Linked DNA regions of Homo sapiens: all the other regions are linked to region 1. The links are contacts of gene promoters, found by promoter capture Hi-C in human tissues and cell types (Jung and others, 2019). All regions are on one chromosome and are shown on one strand. The core of a region is centred on a gene start or on the middle of the fragment in contact, and the rest is flanking DNA. Distances in the headings are between cores, read along the strand shown.

Region 1 (2,700 bases), core at 49-2,548:
TAGAGACAGGGTTTCACCACATTGGCCAGGCTGGTCTCGAACTCCTGACCTCAAGTGATCCACCCACCTTGGCCTACCAAAGTGCTGAGGTTACAGGCGTGAGCCACCGCGCCCAGCCTGTGACACACTTTAAATGAATTCAGGGTTGACTCATACACAGCACGCCTGGTAATAACATTGAAAACAAAGTCTCCTGCCCAAATTCTAACAGTTACCACCACAATGCAGAGCCCTCTCCTGAGAGATAATCATTTCTGTACAGTTAATGATGAAAGAGTGACGCTTTCATAACAAGACCAATGATGGTTTCTGTTCCCTCTCAGTCCAAATCCAGTGTCCGTCTCCTCCCAAAACAATAGGTTATCCTCTGATCAACGCTGACAAAATGAACCCTGTAGGAAACACACAAGTATGGCGCATCTCTCAAATCTTAGCTCTTTGAAATGACACCAGGCAGCCGACTCTGAATCACAGCTACATTTTAATCCATTTTCCGACACTCCAAATGCTCTAAGCTATTTTCTGTATAACCACTGCCCTCACGGCGGGCAGCCTGAGAGAAAGATCGTCGCGTGAGGGGGTACCTTGATGGGGGTCCGGGCTCTGCTACAAACTGGCTAGGTGAACTTGAGCAAATCCCTCCCTCTCTCGGAGCCTCAATCTCATTAACTCCAAAGAGAGACAGCTGGACTCAGAAGACCCCTCAAGTCTCCCACATTTCTAAGAATCTAACAGCTGGGGGTCACAAGGGTAACCAAGACTCTAGCCCCATAACATATTGTTTTGAGATTACCTAACCTAACCCTCTAGCTTCAAAGACTAAGATCCAGAAATGAAAGTTGCCTGACACTCAATCTAGTGTCCTTCCCACAGGACATCATTCCTTCTACGAAAACGAACACACGAGAAAATGGCATCTGAACATCTGAAAGCCCTGCCTCGACTCAAGAGACGGGCAGGTAGCCTATTTCATCTGATTTTTGTCCCTCGTGAACTTCCACCTAGCTGGAAAGGGCAAAGCGCGAGCTTCTAGGCCACACCCTAAGTAAATCCGGACCGCCCTACGCAGGAGCAGTCGCACCTGCTCCTAAGCTCGAGGTGAAGGTGGCTCCGTCTCCACCCGAGCTCGCCTCAGAGCGAGCCCGCGACACAGAAACATCTCTCTTCAGACCCCAGCTTGGTCCAGGTTGCCCCACGCCCCAAGGTAGTCTCTCCGCGCTGCTATACCTGCTCCGCCACGGCGCGACCCCGTGCAGTAATCCCAGACATCGGTGCCCCACGGACGTCGCCATCTTGTCTGCTCCTTCTCAGCGTGCCACGCCCCCTTCACACGCTGGGCGCACGCTTAAGGCGTCACGAGTCTCGAGTTCAGTGGGCCAATGAGAAAAGCGCGGGTTGGGGGCGGAGCCGACTAAGCTCCGCCCTGTGGCTACTCCCCACCTAACCCGCTTGGCACCTGCGGAGGTAGGGGAACTAGTGGAGCTGTAGGTTTCGCTAAACCTGGGCTTGGTCGCAGCACTGCCACTCCTCCTCCTTCCCTCTGGGTGCCTTTCCTCATGTACCTGGAAAATCTGAGTCATCCAAGATCCAAGAATGTCGTTTCAAGTGATCGAACTTGCTCATTTTACGGATGGGGAAACTGGGCATCCATGACTCAGCTCTCGTTTTTTAAGCGCCGGAGTGTGTTGTGAGCACTTTGCAAGCATGGTGTCATATCATTCTTATCTCCTACCGCTGTGCTGCCAGGGAGACCGGGGGCAAACGGTCTTGGATCACCTAGAAATGCAACCAGTCGTTAAATTCGGTGCCTGGTGCTTGCTCTTGAAAAGGTTCCTATCTTCAATTGTAAGAGGAAAACGAGTTTTCAATCATGTCTGCTACTTTTTACTGAGCACTGACTAGAGACTCGCAGCTAGGCCCGAGACATTATCCCCATTTTAAAGATGAGGTACCTGAGGCTCAGGAAGGTTAAGCAACATCTTCAAGGGTACATAAAGGGCATATGCCCAAAGACTATAAAATAGTGAAGCCAGAATTTGAACATACGTCTCTGACTCCAAAAACCATGTCCTAAACATCTTCTTCTTTTTTTTTTTTTTTTGAGACAGAGTCTCTCATTGTCGCCCAGGCTGGAGTGCAGTGGCGCGATCTCGATTCACTGCAAGCTCCGCCTCCCGGGTTGACGCCATTCTCCTGCCTCAGCCTCCCGAGTAGCTGGGACTACAGGCGCCCGCCACAACGCCCGGCTAATTTTTTTATATATATTTTTCGTAGAGACGGGGTTTCACCATGTTAGCCAGGATGGTCTCGATCTCCTGACCTCGTGATCCGCCCGCCTCGGCTTCTCAAAATGCTGGGATTACAAGCGTGAGCCACCGCACCTGGCCTAAACATTCTTCCTTTTAAGCCCTTTGTCAGAATCTGGCAGAATTTGGGTCCAACAACTGAAGGAATGCAGCCCTACTTTTTCATCTGCTAAGCTGATAATCACAGTTGCCTTCACCAGGCATTTGACAGGAGGAGGAATATGCTCCCTGGTCCCTGCAGGTATTTCTGTGTAGTTGGCTTAAGTTCAACTAGGGCATACTCAGCTCCTACAGAGAGCTTAAAAGGCACCAGGTTTGGTATTGGGGGGAAGAAACCTCCCTTTGTCATGGTTTTCAAAAGTCGGAAAAGAAAAAAACAAATGTATAGAATTGG
Region 2 (2,700 bases), core at 184-2,683, 420 kb after region 1:
CAAGTTATACAAGTGGTTTCAGAAAGCTGTGGTGTTGGCTGGGATAGTCAGGGCAGCTTCTCACAGGAGTGCATGCAGAGCTGGGCCCTGTGGGTTGTGGAGATGACTTAGCTAAGGTGGGAGAATCAGAGCAGTGGCAGGTGCAGAAATAAGTGAGCACAGGGGAGTGGAGGCAGGGTGGGCACGCAGATGCTCTTGGCTGGAGGAGGGTGGCCACTGAAGGATCGTGGGGGTTTGTGGGGACCATATAGCTTGATAGTTCAGATGAGGTCACAGCATACTGTGTGTTTTGAACACAGTATACTGGGGTTTGGAAAGCCAGGCAGAGGCCTTGGATTTGATGTGTCAGGGACTGGGAGCCCCTGTAAGGAGGGAGAAAGGCAGTGACTCACACACAGAGGTTTCAGAAGAGGACTCAAGTGGCCACCCAAGAAGCTGGTGCATAAATAGCAATTGGGGCTCCTTTGCAGAGGGGTCACTCTGCCTCCTTGGTGGGGGTGGGAGGGATCAGCTTTAGAACTTGCTGCTTGACTGCAGCCCCACAGCTTTGGGGACTAAGAAAAAGGTAGACATATGTCCCACCATCTCCACAGCCAGCTCTTTGCTCCTCCCTGCCTTGTGTGTGGAAGACGCTTCTTCTTACCACAGAGGAGTCATCTCCTTTGAGCCATCTTCTGGCTCAAAAGGGTCACACCAGACTCTTTCCCCTCAAGTAGGGAGAAACATTCGCCACTTCTATGACAGGTGGAGCTGTGGGAACATGCTGAATAGCAAAATACTGTAACAGGACAAGGGAGGGAAGGAAGGAGAGGCAGGCAAACCACTGTGGGGATGTTCTCAGAAGGCCAGCAGAAGTAGAGGGTGGAGAGTGGGGAAGGAAGCAAGTAGACAGGTCACCCTCCACACGAGGTCAGATGTGTTGTCTTCTTGCCTGCTTAGGGGGCCTGGCGGCGGTGATTTACACGGACACCTTGCAGACGGTGATCATGCTGGTGGGGTCTTTAATCCTGACTGGGTTTGGTAAGTGGGGCCAGGGCAGGCTGAGGAGGTGGGAGCAGAGGTAGAGGGCCTCAGGAAGAGGAAGGCAAGTCCAGCCTCTCTACCTGCTTGCCAGACTAGGCAGTGAGCTGAGGCATGCTCTGCCCTTCCAAACGGAGGGTCCAGCCCAGATGGGCTGTCATTGTGGGTATGCAGGGTCAGCTTCCTTATCCCTGGAAGACTGAAGCTGGGGCTGGTCCTGGATTTTCTGCTGCCCTCTCTCACCAGTCTGGGCTAGTGGTTGTGCTGTGAGCCTGTGATAACATGGTGTTCTGTTTGCAGAGAAACTGGACAAAAAAGGATAAGGCTAAATATCCATCAAGCTAAATCTAGTCAAATGTTGCGTCTTCCATCTTAGGCTATATCTTATCTACATTTTGATGTCAAATATCCTTTCTTTTATGAATTGTTGATAGTGGGTGATAATGTTCCTTTTAATGCCCCTATTTGGCAAAATTAAAAACTTGGCTCCTCAGGGTTGGCCCTCCAATTAATTTTTTTTTTTTTTGCAATTTTACTTGTCTATGAAATCTTAAAGATGAGACTGGAGAACCTAGGTAAGGGTACTTATTATGGGAGGATAGAAAGTACATTTTATTTCTAGGTGCTCAAGGCCCACTGTGTATCCTGCAAAAACTTGTATTTGCTCTCCACTCTTCTGTTTTCTAAGGACTTTCATTTGGTTCTCCCCAGCAGGCCTTGGGTGTTAGCTAGGCAGGCAGTGGAATGACTTATTCAAGGACACACAATTGAGAGGTGGCAGGTTCTGGATTCCTCACCCATTCCCTGTCCATCCCACCACATGCTGGGTCCAGGAGTGGTAGGTGTGGGTCTGAGGTCCCAAAGGCCACTGTGTGTGTCTAGGTCTGTGTGTCTCTAGGCCTGAGTCCAAGGCTCCAAAGGCCATGGCTGACAGCAGAGGGTGAGGGAAAAAACAGAGTCTTTGTATGTGGTCCCAAACCAAGGTCTTTCTTTGATTAATAAAAGTCCCTTCCCTTTTACAAAGAGGTTTACAGTTGGAGTACTTTTACAAGTGATTGCTTTGGTCCCCATAATAGCCCCCAAGGGGGCTGGGCAGGGCTACTAATCTCATTCTATGGATGACAAAGCTGAGGCCCAGAATGGGAAGGTGATTTGCCCAAGGCCACTCAGTGAGGGCTCTGTCTGTGGGTTGGGTCCTCTCAGTTTCTCAGGCATCTATGGAAAGAAGCTGCTATGACGAGTTGAAGGTTTCAGAATGTTCATTTCTGTACCGATGTTTTCCAGCTTTTCACGAAGTGGGAGGCTATGACGCCTTCATGGAAAAGTACATGAAAGCCATTCCAACCATAGTGTCTGATGGCAACACCACCTTTCAGGAAAAATGCTACACTCCAAGGGCCGACTCCTTCCACATCTTCCGAGATCCCCTCACGGGAGACCTCCCATGGCCTGGGTTCATCTTTGGGATGTCCATCCTTACCTTGTGGTACTGGTGCACAGATCAGGTACCCAAGCTGGATGTGCGGGATGGACAGAGTCTTCTCCAGGGCCCTACAGGAACTCCTGTCTGTCTGTGGTTTGCAGGGTTGGGACAGGGAGGGGAGAGCTCAGGTGGTTTGTAAGTTGCCACGCCCCAGTGATACAGCAGTGCCAGGCCAATGACCCAAGATGGCGAAGCTA
Region 3 (2,700 bases), core at 15-2,514, 260 kb before region 1:
CCTCCCTTTTTTGTCTCTGGGAAGTTAGAATAGTTCTTGTTTACAAATTTAACTAAATTAAACTTCCCTCCCAGGGCTGGGTGGAGGCCAGCCCTGTGGGTTAAGCCTGGCCTGTCGACTGTGGGTTAAGCCTGGCCTGTCGACTCCCGCTGGAATAATCAATCTATCAAAACAACCCATTGATCCTGAGGCAAACCGCTTTCAAAACCACCACATAGTTCCTGGACGTCCTGGCTTCCTCATGACACTTGGGGAAGAGGAGTCTTTTGAAATTTTAAATTTTATTATTACACAAGTAATACATGGATACATTCGTCTTGTAAAAATTTAACTTCAAAATTCTGTGGAATAAAATGTGAAAGGCCTTTTCTTTGCATCCCATCCCACAGTTAAGAGCTTCTGATGTATTTTTCTGTTTAGGCCTTTAAACTGCACGTTCATACACGTACACCTATATAAATGTACATTTAATTTTAAAAATAACATAAATGGTATCACTACGTAGGTGCCCTTCTGCTAGTTGTTTTCCCATTTAACATGTCCTGGGTAGCCAGTCAGACCACAGATCTACGTTTTAACGGCTGTAATCATATTTCAAAAACAGGATAGAGGCATTATTCATTTATCCATTTTCCTACTGATGGGTGTTAATATAGATTTCAATTTTTTGGTATTACAAACTATGTTGCAAGCAGCAGTTCTCTGGGAATTATCCATTCAAGTATGCACTTATTTTGGGCTCCCCATGTGCTCTACTCGGGGTTCGGAGTAAACAAAACCGACCTAAAAATAATTTTGAATGATAGAAAGGGGGCATTTTCTTTATCCAAGGGGGTGAGGCAGGCTGAAGATGGGTCTCTACTCCCTCCAAGACCATGGAGGGCGTCGGGGTGTCACCCCAGCTGTGAAAAAGGGACCCAGGACCCGCAGATGCTGGCGAGGAACAGGGGTGCGGAGCATGAGTCGGCTTTGCACCACGCCCTGGGGTCTCCAGCACTGAAGCGTTCAGTACCATGCAGAGCAGCTGGGAGCGGGTCCCGCTGGGCGGGGCCGAGCTGCGCGCGACCCTCGGCGCGCTCGGGGAGGCCCAGACAGGGGTGGCCTCTCTGGCCTCCGCTCCCGCGGGCTCTATGACACCGCACTGGCTCGCGGGACGGGGCGGGGTCGGGTGAGGGGGAGGAGACAGCCCCACGCTTTGCGACTCGCGGTGACCCCTACGCGGAACTCTCTCGCGGTAATTCGAAGTACCGCGCCTGCGTGCTGCAGTAGCGCCTGGTGGCGGTGGCAGTTTGCCCGCGGGTGTGTGAAGGGAGACAGTGTGGAGGCCACAGGGTACTCGCCACGATGAGCAGCACCTTAGCTAAGATCGCGGAGATAGAAGCAGAGGTAATGGACGCAGCTGGCGGTTCACTCTTAGTCTGAGCATTCCTTCTTTGGTGGCGTCGCTCCTTCCTGTTCTCCTTTGAGCCGCGTCAGGACCGGGCCTAGATTCCGCGACTTCTCTCAGCGAGGCCCGTGTTCCGACTGCCCTCTGCCACGATTAGGAGTCCCCGACTCTCCTCAGTCAGGGCCCCCTTTCCCCTCGTCCCGCGTCTACGCTCTCGGACTCCCCTTTGCCCGGGCCCGCGTTCCGCACCCCTGCACCTTAGGCCCTTAGTCCGTTCCCCCTCCCAGTGTTTGGCTCCTGTTCTGATGTTGTTTCTTTCCGTTTTGCTCTGAGAAACACTGAATCCTGTCCCTTATTCCATCTCTGACTTGGTCAGATAGTTCAGGATCTTTCCTCATCATCCTTCGCTGCGTCCCCCTTATTCCCCCTTTTCCCAGTGTCTACCCTAATGACCCCCTGATTCAGAGTATTTGCTCCCGGTAATCGGATCTGGAAGTAAAATGACATCTGTGTGGGAGCAGTTTATTCCGCCTGGATAGTGTGTGATTCCATTGCGTGCGGCCCTGAGAGCGCTTTACAATTAGGAAAGTGGTGTCCCAGTGTTAGATGGATCCAAACAGCTGCAAATAGTAGAAAAGGAACCCGCAGACGGGTTTCAGTCTAGTCTGGGGGCACTAATTGGAATGACCTTAATCGTCTTTCCTCTTTGGGCTTTGCTTTGCTTTGTAGTGAGGGAAATGAGCTGGATGGAGGAGATAATGGACTTTTACTCTTTTAAAGCCTGTAAACTGGGTGTGCTAACATTAGTAGGACTTGGGGAAAAAAATTATCCTCTCAAAGCTGGGGGAAGCGTTCACTGCTTCTAATTTATGGCTGTGATTCCTCCCTTTTAGATGGCTCGGACTCAAAAGAACAAGGCCACAGCACACCACTTAGGGCTGCTTAAGGCTCGTCTTGCTAAGCTTCGTCGAGAACTCATTACTCCAAAGGGTGGTGGTGGTGGAGGTCCAGGAGAAGGTTTGTGTTCTTCTTCAATATATATATTTTTAGGTATAATTTTTGTCAAAATAGTACATACATGTGGTTTAAAAATAACTAAAGATGGCCCAGTGCAGTGGCTCAACGCCTGCAATCCTAGCATGCTGGGAGGCTGAGATAGGAGGATCACTTGAGGCCAGGAGTTCAAGACCAGCCTGATCAACATAGACCCCCATCTCAAAAAAAAAAAAAAGTTTTTTAAAAACAGAAAAATAACTAAAGATGTTCTACTAAAGTAGATTTATATTTTCTAAGCATGAATTCTTGAACTGTGT
Region 4 (2,700 bases), core at 76-2,575, 470 kb after region 1:
TTGAGTTCAGTACGTGGGTGGTGCCAGAGCCACTGCTCATTGAATTCTCACTGGGTGTCTGGGGCTCTGCCGGGTGCTTTCCACACTTTAGTCTTTAATGCAACTTTCATCATCATCCCCCACTTTCCAGATGAGGGAGCTCCAGCTTAGAGAGGTGGAGGGAAATGTGCAGGTCCCCCAGCTAGGGCTCACCTGACTTATGGTCTTAACCAACAAGATACCCTCCAAGTCAGAGGAAGTGGGGAGTTGGCATCTATACAGGATGTACTACATGCCAGTACTGTGCTTGTTCTTTTTTTTTTTTTTTTTTTTTTTTGAGGCAGGATTTCTGTCCCCCAGGCTGGAGCTGCAGCCCCAACCTCCTGGGCTCAATCAATTCTCCTAGGTAGCTGGGACTACAGATGCATGCCAACATACCCACTAATTTTTATATTTTTTGTCGAGACAGGTTTTCACTGTGTCGTCCAGACTGGTCTCACCCAACCAAACTCCTGGGCTCAAGCAGTCCACCCACCTCAGCCTTGCCTGGCCTTGTTCTTTACATGCGTTATGTCAGTTAAGCCCCCAGCAACCCTGTGAAGTAGGCATCATCATCTTGATTCTATAGATGAGGAAACTGAGGCTCAGAGTGATTTCAACTTGCTGGGGGTTAGCAGGCAGCAGAACCAGGATTTAGATCTTTCTCCTACAAAAAACATGTTTGTTTTTTGTTCGTTTGAGACAGGGTCTTGCTCTGTCACCCAGGTTGGTGTGCAGTGGCACCGTCACAGCTCACTGCAGCCTCAGACTCCCAGATTCAAGTGATTCCCCTGCCTCAGCCTCCTGAGGAGCTGGGATTACAGGCATGCACCACCATACCAGGCTAATTTTTTGTATTTTATTAGAGACGAGGTTTCACTATCACTGTGTTGGCCAGGATGGTCTTGATCTCCTGACCTCGTGATCCGCCGCCTCAGCCTCCCAAAGCGCTGGGATTACAGGCATGAGCCACTGTGCCCGGCCGATCCTCAGCCTCTTAAAGTGCTGGGATTACAGGTGTGAGCTACTGCACTTGATCTCCAAGCTTCCATCTTGTTAATTCCTATCCTAATAGTCGTCCCGCACTGTTGCCTGTCCCACCTGAGGCCAGGCACCTGAAGCTGTCCTCAGCCAACAGCATAGTATGTCTTACGTGCCTCCCTCTGGTTCATTTGGAAGTTAGATACCGGGAATTATCCCCTGCCAGGGTAGGGAGGGATCACTCATGCTTGCCTCCTTTCCTTAGGGGAGATCTTTGAGCTGAAGGCAGAGCTCAATAGTGACAAGAAGGAGAAGGAGGAGGAGGCAGTGAAGAAAGTGATTGCATCAATGACCGTGGGCAAAGATGTCAGGTGTGCAGGAGTAGGCCTGGTGGCAGCTGGAAGCTGGCTGACGGGAGGGTTTATAGCTGGGGTCCACTTCAGTCTCTCCTTTAGGGTGTCTAGGGACCCATGTCTCCCCTCATACAGCTCCCTTCATAAAACTTTATTCCCAGTAGAAAATTTTGTTTACTCAGGAATCACAAGCCCAGATGCCGACAGGTCAGGTGGTGATGGAGTGAGTTAACTGGAGTAGGTGGGAAAGGCAGCAGGCGATGGAGTGGGTGTGGCATGAACTCTCTTAGAAACTCCAGAGGATCAGTACTGGCTGGGGAAGAGGACCCAGTGTGGCCAGGTCTTCTAGTTTTTAAAAAGAATGGGAAATCTGGGCCAGGCGTGGTGGCTCATGCCTGTAATCCTAGCACTTTGGGGGACGCAGGCGGGCGGATCACAAGGTCAGGAGTTCGACACCAGCCTGGCCAATATGGTGAAATCCCGTCTCCTCTAAAAATATAAAAATTAGCCAGGCGTGGTGGTGCATGCCTGTAATCTCAGCTACTCGGGAGACTGAGGCAGGAGAATTGCTTGAACCTGGGAGGTGGATGTTACAGTCAGCCGATATTGTACCTCTGCACTCCAGCCCTGGTGACAGAGCAAGACTCCGTCTCAAAAAAAAAAAAAAAGAATGGGAAATCTGGATTTTTCATTTTAAATCTCCCTAAGTGGCCAGATGATATTAAACAAACACTGTGTGGTGCAAATAAAACATATGTGCAGATTGGATTTCTCTAATTTGTCACCGGTGTGCAGCCTCTGTCGCACCCGATGGCTAAAGCAGGTCGTGCGTAGAGCGGCTGCCGCACCTTGGCTCATGCTTCCCCTGTGGGAGCGCCCCGTGACCCAGCTTGTCTTCTCATCTTTAAAAACCCATTCAAGGCCGGGCGTGGTAACTCACACCTGTAATCCTAGCACTTTGGGAGGCCGAGGAGGGTAGATCACGAGGTCAGGAGTTCAAGACCACCTGGCCAAGATGGTGAAACCCCATCTCTACTAAAAATAGAAAAATTAGCTGGGCATGGTGGCGGGCACATGTAATTTCAGCTGCTCGGGAGGCTGAGGCAGAGAATTGCTGGAACCCGGGAGGCAGAGGTTGCAGTGAGCTGAGATCATGCCACTGCACTCCAGCCTGGGCGGCAGAGCGAGACTCCCTCTCAAAAAAATAAAAAAAATTCAAGGTCCGCCTTTCCCGTGTTCCTGCCTTCCCTCATCACCCCAGCCCACTACCCCAAACTCAAAGCATTTGCTCTCTGTTCCCATCACCCAGCACTAAATGGAGATTGTTCTCCTGTTATGTGTACTTGCA
Region 5 (2,700 bases), core at 188-2,687, 260 kb after region 1:
TAATAATACTTACGCCACTTTTCACATTCAGTGCCCTTCAGTGGCTTCCTGTTTCACTCAAGAAAAGGAGAAAACCCCACCTACCTATCCAGCAACATGTGAGCCTCCACCTACCTCTCCAGCCTCATCTTGCATGCTCTTTCCTGTTGGTCACCGCCCTGCAGTCGTACCAGCCTCACTGCAGTTCTTCATGTGATTTATGTTCATCCCACACCAAGCACTCTCCCTGGAATATGCTTTCCCTCCATCTTCACCTGGTGAATGCCTACTCTTCCTTCTTTCGATCTCAGCTCGGCCATTACTATCTCAGCCTTCCATGACCTCCGACTAGGGGAACCCTCCTTATATCACACTCTCAGAGTAACATGTGCCTCTGCTGTAGCCTTCATCACAGCCGTCAGTTTACACTTATTCCTTCAACTTGAATTAATGTCAGCCTTTTCTAATCAACACTAAGCTCCACAGGAACAGAGACCATATCATTCTTTGCTCACCTTGGTACTCCTAACGTTAGAACAGTGCCTTGCACATAGAAGATATCTCGTAAATAATAAATGAATGAATGAGTAATGAGAAAGCCTTTGGGTTAGACGGTCATCCTTCAGACCAAGCCCAAAACTTCCCCAAGAGAAAATCTGCTGCCTTTGAATAAAACCAGCCTTTCTCACTGGCCTCCTGCCATGGGACAGAAACAGCCTTCTTGACTTCCAGTGAGTTCTGCCGGCTAGAGACGTGACCTTGGGTGGTCACAGGGTACCCGTGGAGTAGGAAAAGCCTTTGTCCCTCTAAGCTGAGATAGAAACTGGATATGAAACCACAATGCAATGGAGAAGTCTGTCTCATTTCCTGAGCTCAGCCATTTCTCAGTGCCAGGCACTTTCAGCTCTTCCTTCCCTCTTCAAACAGGGTCACTTACCGTGTCCTGATGGTGGAATCCTCTACTTTGGTTTTTCTGGCCAGCAGTGTTTTCTTTAATGGGTTGGAGCAAAGGTTCTCAAAGGCCTACAGACCTGGGCCAGTCCCCCACAGAGTCAGCACCAGGACATGGTGAAATCAGAGAAACAGGGACAAAGTCGGGAGTTTTTATGAAGATAAATTAATTCTGAAATTGTCTGCCCTACTTTTTTCTGTGTCAGGATGCCCTTTCTTTTATGAAACAAGGGTGCTAGGAGTTGGCCATTTTTTTCAGTGTCCTTGTTTGTCAAAATCACCTATTTAATTTTCTTTTGAAATTTACTGGTCTGTGGACAGTGGCTGAGCCAGGATGAGAACTTGGATTTTGTAGTTCCAGGTTTGCAGTCTCTCCCCTCTGCCACCCCTCCCTGGAGAGGATCAGATGCAGGGGAGACAGGACGGCTGGCTGTAAATTATTGACGGGCTGCCATGTGGAAGAGGGGAAGCACTGGTTCTGTAACCAGGGAGCAGAGTCAGGGTCACTGGGTAGCAGTTTCAGAGGGGCATATTTCAAGTGGGTTAGAATAAACTCTTTGACAGGCAGGAATTCAACAATAGAATGGGCTACCCCACCCATGGTGGCCAGGCACAGGTGTGGCAGCCATATTTGGGCTGTTGGAGGGACTATCCCCGCCTGCGGGTACTGGTTAAGGATTTTGGCCTTGGATTCAAATCGACCTGGGTTTCAGCACTAGTTTTACCACTTTTTATCTGTGTGACCCGGGGCAAATCAGTTTCCTGCTGTTTAAAATGGGGGTAAATCACGCCTCCCTCAGAGTCCTGTGAGGATTGAAAGAAGGGGTGCCAGCCGGGCACAGTGGCTCACGCCTGTAATCCCAGTGCTTTGGGAGGCCAAGATGGGAGGATTGCTTGAGCTCAGGAGTTTGAGACCAGCCTTGGCAACATAGTGAGGCCTCGTCTCTACCGCTACTATTAATAATAAACTAGCTGGGCATAGTGGCATGTGCCTGAAATCTCAGCTACTCGGAAGGCTGAGGTGGGAGAATTGCTTGAGTCCAGGAAGTCAGCTGCAGTGAGCCAAGATCGTGCCACTGCACCCCAGCCTGGGTGACAGAGTGAGACCCTGTTTCAAAAATAAAAGAAAGAAGGGGTGCCCAGGCCACAAAAGGGCATTTTGTGAGATGTGGGCACATTCCTGGCACATCTGTCTCCAGGGAGTTTACTAATTCCTGGGGAATAAGGAATGCCACTCTCTGGTGGAGAGGAAGAGACTCACAGAGAAAAACAGTTTATGAGGCCGTGTGCGGTGGCTCACGCCTGTAATCCCAGCACTTTGGGAGGCCGAGGCGGGAGGATCACCTGAGGTCAGGAGTTTGAGACCAGCCTGGCCAACATGGGGAAACCCCATCTCTACTAAGAATACAAAAATTAGCCAGGTGTGGTGGCTCATGCCTGTAATCCCAGCTACTCGAGAGGCTGAGGCACGAGAATCGCTTGATTCCAAACATTCATTCATCCATATACCCATCCATCCATACACCTACTCATCCAACTCGTGTTCATCCAAACATCCATCCATCCATCCATCCATCCATCCATCCATCCATCCATCCATATATACATCCATCTATCCATTCATGCATCTATACATATACCTATTGATCAAATTCTTGTCCATCCATCCATCCACCTATTTATCCAACTTCTGTTCATCCAAACATCCACCTATCCATCTATCTACCCATCCATCCATTCATGCATGCATGCATCCATCCATACATACAT

The links. The method cuts DNA at HindIII sites, captures the fragments that hold promoters and counts their contacts. A contact is called where the count stands out against the background at its distance.
Region 2: a fragment that was not itself captured here is called in contact with the fragment with the promoter of PISD in region 1 in 2 of the 25 tissues and cell types used here (lymphoblastoid cells and mesendoderm cells).
Region 3: a contact is called between the fragment with the promoter of DRG1 here and the fragment with the promoter of PISD in region 1, in 1 of the 25 tissues and cell types used here (hippocampus).
Region 4: a fragment that was not itself captured here is called in contact with the fragment with the promoter of PISD in region 1 in 1 of the 25 tissues and cell types used here (lymphoblastoid cells).
Region 5: a fragment that was not itself captured here is called in contact with the fragment with the promoter of PISD in region 1 in 1 of the 25 tissues and cell types used here (IMR-90 fibroblasts).

The regions. Positions count from the first base shown.
Region 1 is chr22:31,660,917-31,663,616 of GRCh38, forward strand. PISD (phosphatidylserine decarboxylase) reads right to left here and starts at 1,299. Exons shown (of 8, transcript NM_001326411.2): 1 at 1,228-1,299. The coding sequence starts at 1,292. RefSeq lists enhancers at 31-924, 220-359, 333-1,532, 750-799, 1,040-1,339 and 1 more. The HindIII fragment of the contact is 10,896 bases long and covers 1-2,700 here.
Region 2 is chr22:32,082,135-32,084,834 of GRCh38, forward strand. SLC5A1 (solute carrier family 5 member 1) reads left to right here. Exons shown (of 15, transcript NM_000343.4): 7 at 940-1,020; 8 at 2,305-2,525. Among named protein-coding and RNA genes, the nearest start is that of SLC5A1, 40 kb to the left of the region's middle. The HindIII fragment of the contact is 6,109 bases long and covers 1-2,700 here.
Region 3 is chr22:31,398,340-31,401,039 of GRCh38, forward strand. DRG1 (developmentally regulated GTP binding protein 1) reads left to right here and starts at 1,265. Exons shown (of 9, transcript NM_004147.4): 1 at 1,265-1,386; 2 at 2,281-2,404. The coding sequence starts at 1,345. RefSeq lists a silencer at 925-1,204 and enhancers at 1,292-2,197, 1,325-1,374. The HindIII fragment of the contact is 5,082 bases long and covers 1-2,700 here.
Region 4 is chr22:32,132,764-32,135,463 of GRCh38, forward strand. It overlaps the pseudogene AP1B1P1 and the pseudogene AP1B1P2. Among named protein-coding and RNA genes, the nearest start is that of C22orf42, 25 kb to the right of the region's middle. The HindIII fragment of the contact is 8,200 bases long and covers 1-2,700 here.
Region 5 is chr22:31,922,582-31,925,281 of GRCh38, forward strand. No RefSeq gene overlaps it. Among named protein-coding and RNA genes, the nearest start is that of YWHAH, 21 kb to the right of the region's middle. The HindIII fragment of the contact is 5,629 bases long and covers 1-2,700 here.